Linked DNA regions of Homo sapiens: all the other regions are linked to region 2. The links are contacts of gene promoters, found by promoter capture Hi-C in blood cells and fetal thymus (Javierre and others, 2016). All regions are on one chromosome and are shown on one strand. Each heading gives the region's core, a stretch centred on a gene start or on the middle of the fragment in contact. The rest is flanking DNA. Distances are from core to core; before and after follow the strand shown.

Region 1 (3,347 bases), core at 584-3,083, 630 kb before region 2:
ACAACAAACTTAATATCCATTTGGGGAAGAGGAAATAATTAGAAAAAGAGTTGAGATTGCAGAAAACTAAGTTGTGTGACCCAGGTTATGTGTGCAGTAACAATTCTAAGAAGGAAGAGTTTAAAATGGGCTGGAAATTATGACCATTTTCTTTCCAAATGGAACAGGCTAAGCTTTGCCTGAACAAAGAAGCAAAGATATCTAACAGCTGCTTGCCACTCTCTGTTGCTTAAAATATCAGAGGAGTATGAGGTTTAGGCAGCTCTGAGTCATCTTCCTCCTAACTTGGTATTTATTCAGGACATAGCTCTAACCCTGATGACAACAGCATTCCTGACCTATGAGCTGCTCAAAATGCTAAGATGGTCCTGAAGGTGAAATAGACACCTTCTCCCCGTGCGGTCAGCTGCCATTCCCACTTGTGCTTCTGCAGCCTCCTCATTTTGTCACAGTGTTTTTCTAAATGAAAGAGGTCTGGACAGCTGAAGAAGAGGAACTGAAGCCAAATGAGAAATATCCTAGATTCTCTTCTTATGACAATGCTCAAGACTCACAGCTGAGGCAATTGTAGAAAGAACTGGAGCTTGGGCTTAGACCATGTGACTTTGGAAGCTTGTATATCATGAATGAAGCCCAATAAATTCAATTCAGTTGTTCAAACTCTATGCAGGCCTATTTTGATCAAAGTCCTGTAACTGTTAGATATGCAAAACTTATTAAGGGAGAATAATGAAAGATATGGAGGGATAAGACAATTTAACATATATTTTATGTGTTCTCATCTCATCCAGTGGTATCTGTAAATGGGCTCTGTAATCAATATTTTTGCAGATGAGGAGGATGAGGCCCAGATGGGTTGGATAACTTGTCCAAGGTCACACAATTTATAAGCTGCAGAGGGAAAATCCAGTCCCACAAAATCCTGGCTCTAAAGCCTGTGCTCTTTACACTTACATTGTCAGAGGGAGAAATACAAACACACAGAGAAGCATTTTTTTAAGAGGAGGGCTCAGGGAACAGAATATTTTCACAATTCTAGATGATGGGGTATTTTCGCAATAGGTGAACTGTGGAGGAGTAGGCTGGAAGGAGGTTGAGGCCATATGATGGAGAACTATGCTAAAGATCACCACTTTAGACTCAATTATGTAAACACTGAGGAGTCACCAGTGACTGACCAAGTATGAGGGAGTTCTGGGTATGGACAATGAGGGGGTACCCTGTCTATAAAAAATTTTAAAGCTATAATAAAACCCAGTCATTCTGATTCTAATCATCACTTCCTGCCGACATTTCTAAACAATGAAGTGATAAAATACTCCTCCTCAAAAAAAAAAAAAAATCATTTCTGGTCTTAGTTTTAAACAATTGCTGCCATTACCATTGAGTTTTAATAATACATTGTGTGGTTTGAATTAGCACATTTTTATTATTTGTCCTTTATTAAATATTGTGTTCAACATAAAAGTTAACTCAGCAAATTCCCAGTTAAACAATTGTTCCCCAAACGTACCCCACTCAGCTACAATCATTCAGGATAAATTGGGAAACCTTGGCAATTGCCTTGGGCAGACATAGCTGCAATTCTAAGTCAAAGAAACAGAACTTGAGTTATTATGGGATCACTTGGAGTTTCCTATTTTCGTTTAAATGCAAAATGCAAGTATAACATTTTTTATTTGATAAGTGCAAATTTTAGTTCATATATAAAATATCCCAAATTTGCACAATCTTTAGAATCAAAATCACTTCTTTTCATTTGTTTTAAAACAGAAGATTTAAAAATTATATTGATTGCTAATTACTACATGAAAATAATTGCATCACAAAGTGAGGGGTGTTATAAAAATGATCCAGCCAAGGTGTCAAAAATGCTAGGAATGCCACTGGAAGTCACTGAATGTTTTTGATGGCAGGGGTCACGAAAGAATGGTTAAGGTGAATCATAAAAGGCATCATCATTATACCAATCTATGTTATGTATATGTCTAGTTACCAATATGTTTTCCTAGAGAAGGAAAAAATGTGGAGTTTAAGTTGTCAAAAGCAATAAAAAGTATTAAGTGGTGGAGAGTATTCTGGCATGGCTCCTTTAAGCTGCTGCATTTTCATGGTAGAATATCAATCCTACCCGCAGCCGGTCTATCCTTGAAAGCAGACAGTTCTCATTTTAAACTGCCAGCAGAGAACACTACCACTTCAGGGAGTCAGTAGGGAATGATGCAATTTGGAAATTTTTGTCACCCAATATGTTGGGAAATGACAGTTGAGAAAATCATTATTTAGGTTTTTTTGTTAAGGACACATGGTTGTCATAACCTGTATTGTTGTTTACAATATTCAGTGCACTTCCCTATGGGAGGATTGCACATCCCTTTCTATAGAAGACTGGCCTGGCCTGATGACTGATTTGCTTCAGTCAGCAGACGTGATGACTGTTCTGGGCCAAAGTTTTAAGAGCTACTACGTGGTTTGCTGTGTCCTTTCCCCAAGTCTCTGTGATCATGAAAGCATGAAGCCTCTATTCACCAAGGGTTCCTTAATAACTTCAATGAGCAGAGTCCTTTTTTAACCCATTGTGAACGTGTTGCCTGAACAAAAATTAAATATTGTAGTTTTAAGCAACTGACATTTTCTGGCACAAACTAGCCCTACCTAATTGATAGAGTAGTCCTTCCATTTGGGCAGATACTCTCATATCTATTCCCAAATTTAGACGGACTAGAGGAAATTATTTCATAGAACTCCTGTATAAATATCAGTAGAATTGCTTTTACTGAACTACATTTGATGTGAAGATTGTTCATACTGAAAGACACTGTAAACACACCTCATGAAACTCAAGCTGGTCCACGCTTAAGAATTGTCATGAATGAGAGGCATTATGCAGTCATAACTTGATGAACATCCTCAAGAGGTCTTTGCCTGTATTTTGCATTAAGAGTCGTTACAGTTCTCCTGACCAGTGTGAACTATTTCTGTCACTTAAACACTATCTATTGTGTACCTGATCACGTACCTAATTTATTTCAGGTTAGTTGCCAGGAAGCTTAGGCCCAAATTTTTGGCAAGGGTGCAAGTGTTTGCAGGATCTGTTTTCAATTTAGTCTTAATTTTAACTCTATTTTATGAATCTCGTTTCGTGTTCCTTTTTTTAACAATTTTTAATGATATGTTGTATTTAATCTCATTAATCTTTTCAAATCCTTTAAAAAACAAGAGTGGATATAAATAAATTTTATAGAGAATATCATTGCCATGTGACTGACTCTTTCTAAACATGTAAATGTCCTCAATCTACATCATGTCACCAAAATTGCTCCTAAAAAATATCACAATTTAGTAGA
Region 2 (3,179 bases), core at 8-2,507:
AAATGTTAAGCACAATGACATAGAGAATGATTTTTCTTTTCTTTCTTTTCTTTTTTTTTTTTTTTTTTTAACTCCGGGCTGAGAACGGAAGTCAAGTTCAGATTCTCTTCCTTCCTCAAGCAAGCCAAAAAATTAAAGAGCAAACACAGAGGCCCTAAATGTCTCGAGGCCTCTTCACCTGTGGCGATCGACGCAGCAAGCCTGGGTGTGCTAAGAATTGAGGCTCTCTCTCCTTCATTCCGGGGGTTACGGGTGGCCTTGGAGCACCGGGAAGAATTAACCGGTGCCTAAGTTTTCAATCGGATCATTCTTCTCAACTTGGGCGGCTCTTTCCTCCCTTCCTTCCTCCCTTCGGCCCGGCACACACGGCGGGGCAGTGCCAGCGCGGGCAGCAGGCTGGGCCCGAGGGCAGCGCTGCCGCAGCCGGGAGCCCCTCAGAGTGTGGGGCGCGGGCTGCCCCCCGCGCGGACACCGGGCAGGGGCCGCAGATCTGTCCCCGCCGCCAGGCGTGGGGACCGCGAAGGGGCAGCCGCGGCGGGGCGGAGGGGCGGGGTGAGCACTTCCTGACTCTCGCATTGTCCACGCACCGCCCGCGCCACCCAGGGCCCCGCCACCGCGCCGTCCCCGTCGGGGAGGAAGTTGGCGCTCGCCCCGCCAGCCCCGTCTTACCGTTTTTGGCATCGCCCGCGGCCGCAGCCCCCGCGGCGGCCGCAGCGTTCGCGGCGCCAGTCCCCGCGCCTCCGGCGCCCGCCGCGCCTCCGGCGCCCGGCGCGCCCGCCGCCGCCGCCCCGCAACCGGCCGCCGCCGCCAGGGCCCCCCCGGCCGCCGCTCCCGCCGCGCCCGCCGCTGCCAGGGCCCCGGCTCCATTTTCCTGCTCGTCGCCGCTGCTGTTGGCGCGCTTGTTTTTGCGGCCGCCTTTGCTGTTTTTGGGGTTGGGCATCTCGCTCGCTCGCGTCCAGGTAGGTGCCCGGCGTCAGCGAAGGCGGATCCCAGAGGCACGGCCGTTCCCGGCCCTGCGTGAAGCCGGCTCCGGGAAAGAACGGAGGGCGCGAGCCGGCGGTTCCCTCGGCTCCCGTCTAGCCGCACGGCCCGTGCCGCGCCATCCTGGCCGCCGCGCCCTCTCCGGCTTCCTGGAGCCGGCACGCGGCCACCCGAGGCTCGCAGCCGCGCGGGCGCCGCGGGCCCGGGGCGCAAGCGAGACGCTCCCGAGCCGGAGGGAAAAGGCGGGTCTCCGGCTTGTTTTGATTCGGCTGCACTGACACGCTCTGGGCCCGCCCCCTCCCGTGACGACACTGGGGATTCGGCCTGGCCGCGCCCACCAGGTGACCTCACGGCTGACGGGACCGCCCGCGTGACGTCACGCCCCGCGCGGGGCCTGCCCACCTCGAGTGACGTCATCCAGGCGTCCCCACCCGGGCCTCCTGGACTCCCGGGCGTTCATGAGCTGCCCTGCTTGACTTGCTCCACCCGCCAGTGCAGTGGCATGTGGAGTTCTTCGGTGGCCTCCTGGCCTTAATGTAATTGAGGCTTAGAACAGTATGGTCTGGAAAAATAAGCTGTGACTAGAGCAAGAATGGAAAACAAAAGATTTTGGATTAATAACTCATTCAAAGGCTATGCCTTTCAGTAACAGTAATTAAAGAAACAGGGGACCGGGCGCGGTGGCTTATGCCTGTAATCCCAGCACTTTGGGAGGCCGAGGCGGGTGTATCACGAGGTCAAGAGATCGAGACCATCCTGGCCAACGTGGTGAAACCCTGTCTCTACTAAAAATACAAAAAAAAATTAGCTGGGCGTGGTGGCGTGCGCCTGTAGTCCCAGAAACTCGGGAAGCTGAGGCAGGAGAATCACTTGAACCTGGGATCCGAGATCGCGCCACTGCACTCCAGCTTGAGCAACAGAGCGAGACTCTGTCTCAAAAAAAAAAAAAAAAAAAGAAAAGAAAGAAAGAAACAGGGTAGAGTTCCCAGACAATGGGGATGAACACCAGGGTCCTGAATGGGAAGCCTTCACAGTCTGGTGGTGAAAACAATTCACTCAAACAAGACCCATCATCCAGGGATGTAACTAGATGTTGCCTGGACTCTGAAGCAGTCCCTGCTTGGGGGGAACCCATCCCTATGCATAGGGCTGAGTTGTCCTGAAAGATAGTGAAAGATAGGTAGCCAGGTTATGAGCAGTAGGAGATTAGGTGACACCAGTGAAGACAGGCAATATGAGGGCAGGGGACCCCTGGGAAGAGCTCCCCTTGATCTCTTTCTGCAATTCTATTCTACCTTTTCGGCCAACTCCTTCCCTTCCTTCAGGTCTCAGCTCAAATACATCACTTCCACAGAGACCTTCCCAGGAGAGCTGTCAGAAGTTCCACCCTGTTATTTTCCTCCTCCATCTCTAATTATGTTGGCAATGTAGGTGTTTACTTATTTCTTGTATATCTCCCTCTCACTGAAATGAAACCTCCATGGATAGATTTTATCTGCCTTGGGCACATCAGAGAACAGCTGGCATAAATTTGTTGAATGTATAAATTAGGTTCCTTCCTCACGAACTGTGGAGGAAAGACTAGTTTAGCTGACAGCTTTACAGTGTTCCCCTTTTATAGTGTAATCTTTAATTCAGCCCTTTAGTAAAAGCTCTGTCACGGTGTTGTTGTTACCATTAGAGGGTCTTGACTGCAAGTCGTCCAAGTTCTTGGCATTTTGAACAAACAATTGGACCAAACGCCCAGCAAAGCAAGGAAAGAAGAAAGCAGGGATTTATTGAGAATGAAAGTACACTCCACAGTATGGAAGCGGCCCCAGCGGTGGCTCAAGGTTCCGGATGCAGAATCTTCTGAGGTCCAAATACCCCCTGGAGGTTTCTCATGTAAATGAAGTGGTGACGCACAATTAGTCTGATTGGTTGCTTTCGTCAACCAATCAGAGGCTGAAGTGGAGTTAACAAAGGTCACACTTCTGTGCAATCACACTTTTTGCACACTTCTGTTTAAAAAGCAACCAATCAGAGGCTAAGGTGAAGTTACAAAGTTGCACTTCTATGCAAAGACTCCACCCGCAATCAGTCTCATTGGTTGCTGACAGCCAGTTTCCCATCTGCCACGCAGAAAAGGTGAGGGTTTGCAAAGGGAGCAGCTTCTGGTCCTTTTGTTACTCAGGTGTGGAAAGTTAGGGTTTTCCTTT
Region 3 (3,093 bases), core at 180-2,679, 710 kb before region 2:
GGACATGATCTCGTTCCTTTTTATGTTGCATAGTATTCCATGGTGTATATGTACCACATTTTCTTTATCCAGTCTATCATTGATGGGCATTTGGGTTGATTCCACGTCTTTTCTATTGTGAATAGTGCTGTAATGAACATACCCATGCATATGTCTTTATAATAGAATGATTTATATTCCTTTGGGTATATACCCCATAATAAGATTGCTGGGTCAAATGGTATTTCTGCCCCTAGATCTTTGAGGAATCTCCACATTGTCTTTCACAATTGTTAAACTAATTGAACACTCCCACCAACAGTGTAAAAGTGTTCCTTTTTCTCCACAGCCTCGCCAGCATCTGTTGTTTCTGGACTTGTTAATAATTGCCATTTGGACTGGCGTGAGATGGTATCTCATTATGGTTTTGATACCATTAGAGAAAACTCATTTGATTTCTCTAATGATCAGTGATGTTGAGCTTTTTTTTCATGTTTGTTGGCAACATGAATGGCTTCTTTTGAGAAGTATCTGTTCATGTCCTTTGCTCACTTTTTAATGAAGTTGTTCATTTTTTTCTTGTAAATTTGTTTAACTTTTTTGTAGTCTCTGGATATTAGACCCTTGTCAGATGGATAGATTGCAAAAATTTTCTCCCATTCTGTAGGTTGCCTGTTCACTCTGATGATAGTTTCTTTTTCTATGCAGAAGATCTTTAGTTTAATTAGATCCCATTTGTCAATTTTGGCTTTTGTTGCAATTTTTTTGGCGTTTTCATCATGAAATCTTTGCCTGTGCCTATGTGCTGAATGGTATTGGCTAGATTTTCTTCTAGGATTTTTATAGTTTGGGGTTTTATATTTAAGTCTTTAAACCATGTTGAATTACTTTTTGCACATCATGCAACGAAGGGGTCCAGTTTCAATTTTCTGCATAGGGCTAGCCAGTTCTCTAAGCACCATTTATTAAATAGGGAATCCTTTCCCCATTGCTCATTTTTGTCAGGTTGTTGAAGATCAGATGGTTGTAGGTGCTTGGTCTTATTTCTGAGTTCTCTATTTTGTTCCATTGGTCTATGTGTCTGTTCTTATACCCCACTACCACGCTGTTTTGTTACTGTAGCCTTGTAGTATAGTTTGAAGTCAGGCAGCATGATGCCTCTAGCTTTGTTCTTTTTGCTTAGGGTTGTCTTGGCTATTCGGGCTTAAAGAAGAGTTTTGCTGCTGTTTATCTTTTTCTCTTTTGCTTTTTGATCTGGAAGATCAAGGATGGCACTACTTCATCACTTAATGGTTGTATTCTTATTAACATAAAAGGCTATCAAATGTCCATCCTAGTAATGACTCTTTTAAGTTCTCACCACATGCTATTGGCTTCCAGTCTTTATTTAAGAAAAAAAGGAGGCCGGGCGAGGTGGCTCACACCTGTAATCCCAGCACTTTGGGAGGCCAAGGCAGGAGGATCACAAGGTCAGGAGTTTGAGACCAGCCTGGCCAATATGGTGACACCCCGTCTCTACTAAAAATACAAACATTAGCCGGGCGTGGTGGTGCACACCTATAATCCCGGCTACTTGGGAGGCTGAGGCAGAAGAATCACTTGAACCTGGTAGGCGGAGGTTGCAGTGAGCCAACATCATGCCACTGCACTCCAGCCTGGGTGACAGAGTGAGACTCCATCTCAAAGAAAAGAAAAAAAAGGATGCTATATTCTCATCGTTACAGGTTTTTCTGAGAACAACGGGTAGAGCATTTTATTGGAATATAGCATTCCTGTGGGGAGAAAAGGTTTGTAGGAACTAAATCATGCAGATTTTTAAGTGTCCAATCCAATCTGTCGTGTGAGAGGTTATATAATTTATCCATTCCACAAATATGTAACAAGGGCACACTATCAAAAGAATGATCTGGGAAAGAAGGAGACAGACTGGGTTGAAATTTTATCTTGGATAACTGGAAGGATAGGGAAGACAATAACAGAAATATTAAATTGAAAAAGTAAAGAAAATTAGCTGCCAAAAAAATTTTGATGAGGAAAGGAGATGGCTTAGGAAGAACCTTGAAATACTGACATATTTAATAGTTTGATAGAGAAGAAGGAGCCTGCAAGGGCAACACAGATGGAAGAGAGAGATAGGTATGAGGAAAATAGAGGAATTGTGGAAGATAAGGAAAGAGAATAATTCAAAAGGCAAGAAGATGCCAACATTGTCCAATGCTGCTGAGAGACCCAGTGAGATGAAAGGCAAAGAAATATTCATTCAGGTTGCAGGTATCAAAATGTACTTATATGAGGAGATAAACAATCAGTCTTTAAGAGGGAAGCTAATACAATTATAAATATAAAGAAATAAAGTGGAAATATATAAAGAAAAAAGATACAGTTTTATTGGGAAAGTAAATCATTGATTAATTTTATAAAGGGTAGGTATGAGCTTGTAATTTCTATACTACACAGCCTTTAGTAGAAATGAGAAAATGAAGATAAAGAAACTCAACAAAAAACAACTTGAGTGACCAGGATCATGTTATTCAGTCATATTTTGTGTGTTCGAAAAGAGGGGGTGCAACATTTCAAATTAGATAAAAAAGGTGACCCTGGAGAATCCATATAGAGAGAATCTTGCTTTCTCTATGGTTAAGGGATTATCTATCATGCATCAGATGCCTTTTTGGGTATTTTATACATGACTCCATTCAATGCTTACAATGATAGCTAACACATACTACTATGGGGTAGGCATGTTTCTATGGGCATTATGTGTAACACCTCACTGATAACTTCCATAATGTTGGTAATACTATTCCCTTTTTTAAAATGAGAATAATGAAAGCATTCAGTACGATTAGGTAGTTTGCTGAGAGTCACAAACTAATAAACAGCACATCTGGATTCAAATCCCACTGAGTTCAAAGTCCATGTTACTTTCATTGCATTTATTACTTGGCTCAAAAGAGGAAGAGAAGTGAAACAGAACAAGGAAGTGAAATCAGAGATGCATGTCAAAATGTTTAAATTTAATTAACAAACCAGCGGCATTTTGGCTCAGATATGCCCATAAGGTGCCTTGCAAATGCCTTTGTACTAATATTGCTAAGAGGCAGTAGGTTCTGC

Evidence for each region. The method cuts DNA at HindIII sites, captures the fragments that hold promoters and counts their contacts. A CHiCAGO score of 5 or more calls a contact.
Region 1: a fragment that was not itself captured here is called in contact with the fragment with the promoter of HECA in region 2 in 1 of 17 cell types (M2 macrophages); the score reaches 6.5 in M2 macrophages.
Region 3: a fragment that was not itself captured here is called in contact with the fragment with the promoter of HECA in region 2 in 1 of 17 cell types (monocytes); the score reaches 5.9 in monocytes.

The regions. Positions count from the first base shown.
Region 1 is chr6:139,761,786-139,765,132 of GRCh38, reverse strand. No RefSeq gene overlaps it. Among named protein-coding and RNA genes, the nearest start is that of FILNC1, 7.6 kb to the left of the region's middle. The HindIII fragment of the contact is 2,437 bases long and covers 615-3,051 here.
Region 2 is chr6:139,133,158-139,136,336 of GRCh38, reverse strand. HECA (hdc homolog, cell cycle regulator) reads right to left here and starts at 1,257. Exons shown (of 4, transcript NM_016217.3): 1 at 670-1,257. The coding sequence starts at 940. RefSeq lists enhancers at 186-305, 1,171-1,465, 2,744-2,793 and silencers at 416-685, 1,086-1,165, 1,276-1,465. The HindIII fragment of the contact is 5,734 bases long and covers 1-3,179 here.
Region 3 is chr6:139,841,890-139,844,982 of GRCh38, reverse strand. All of the region lies in intron 1 of FILNC1 (FOXO induced long non-coding RNA 1), which reads right to left. Among named protein-coding and RNA genes, the nearest start is that of FILNC1, 72 kb to the right of the region's middle. The HindIII fragment of the contact is 3,555 bases long and covers 1-3,093 here.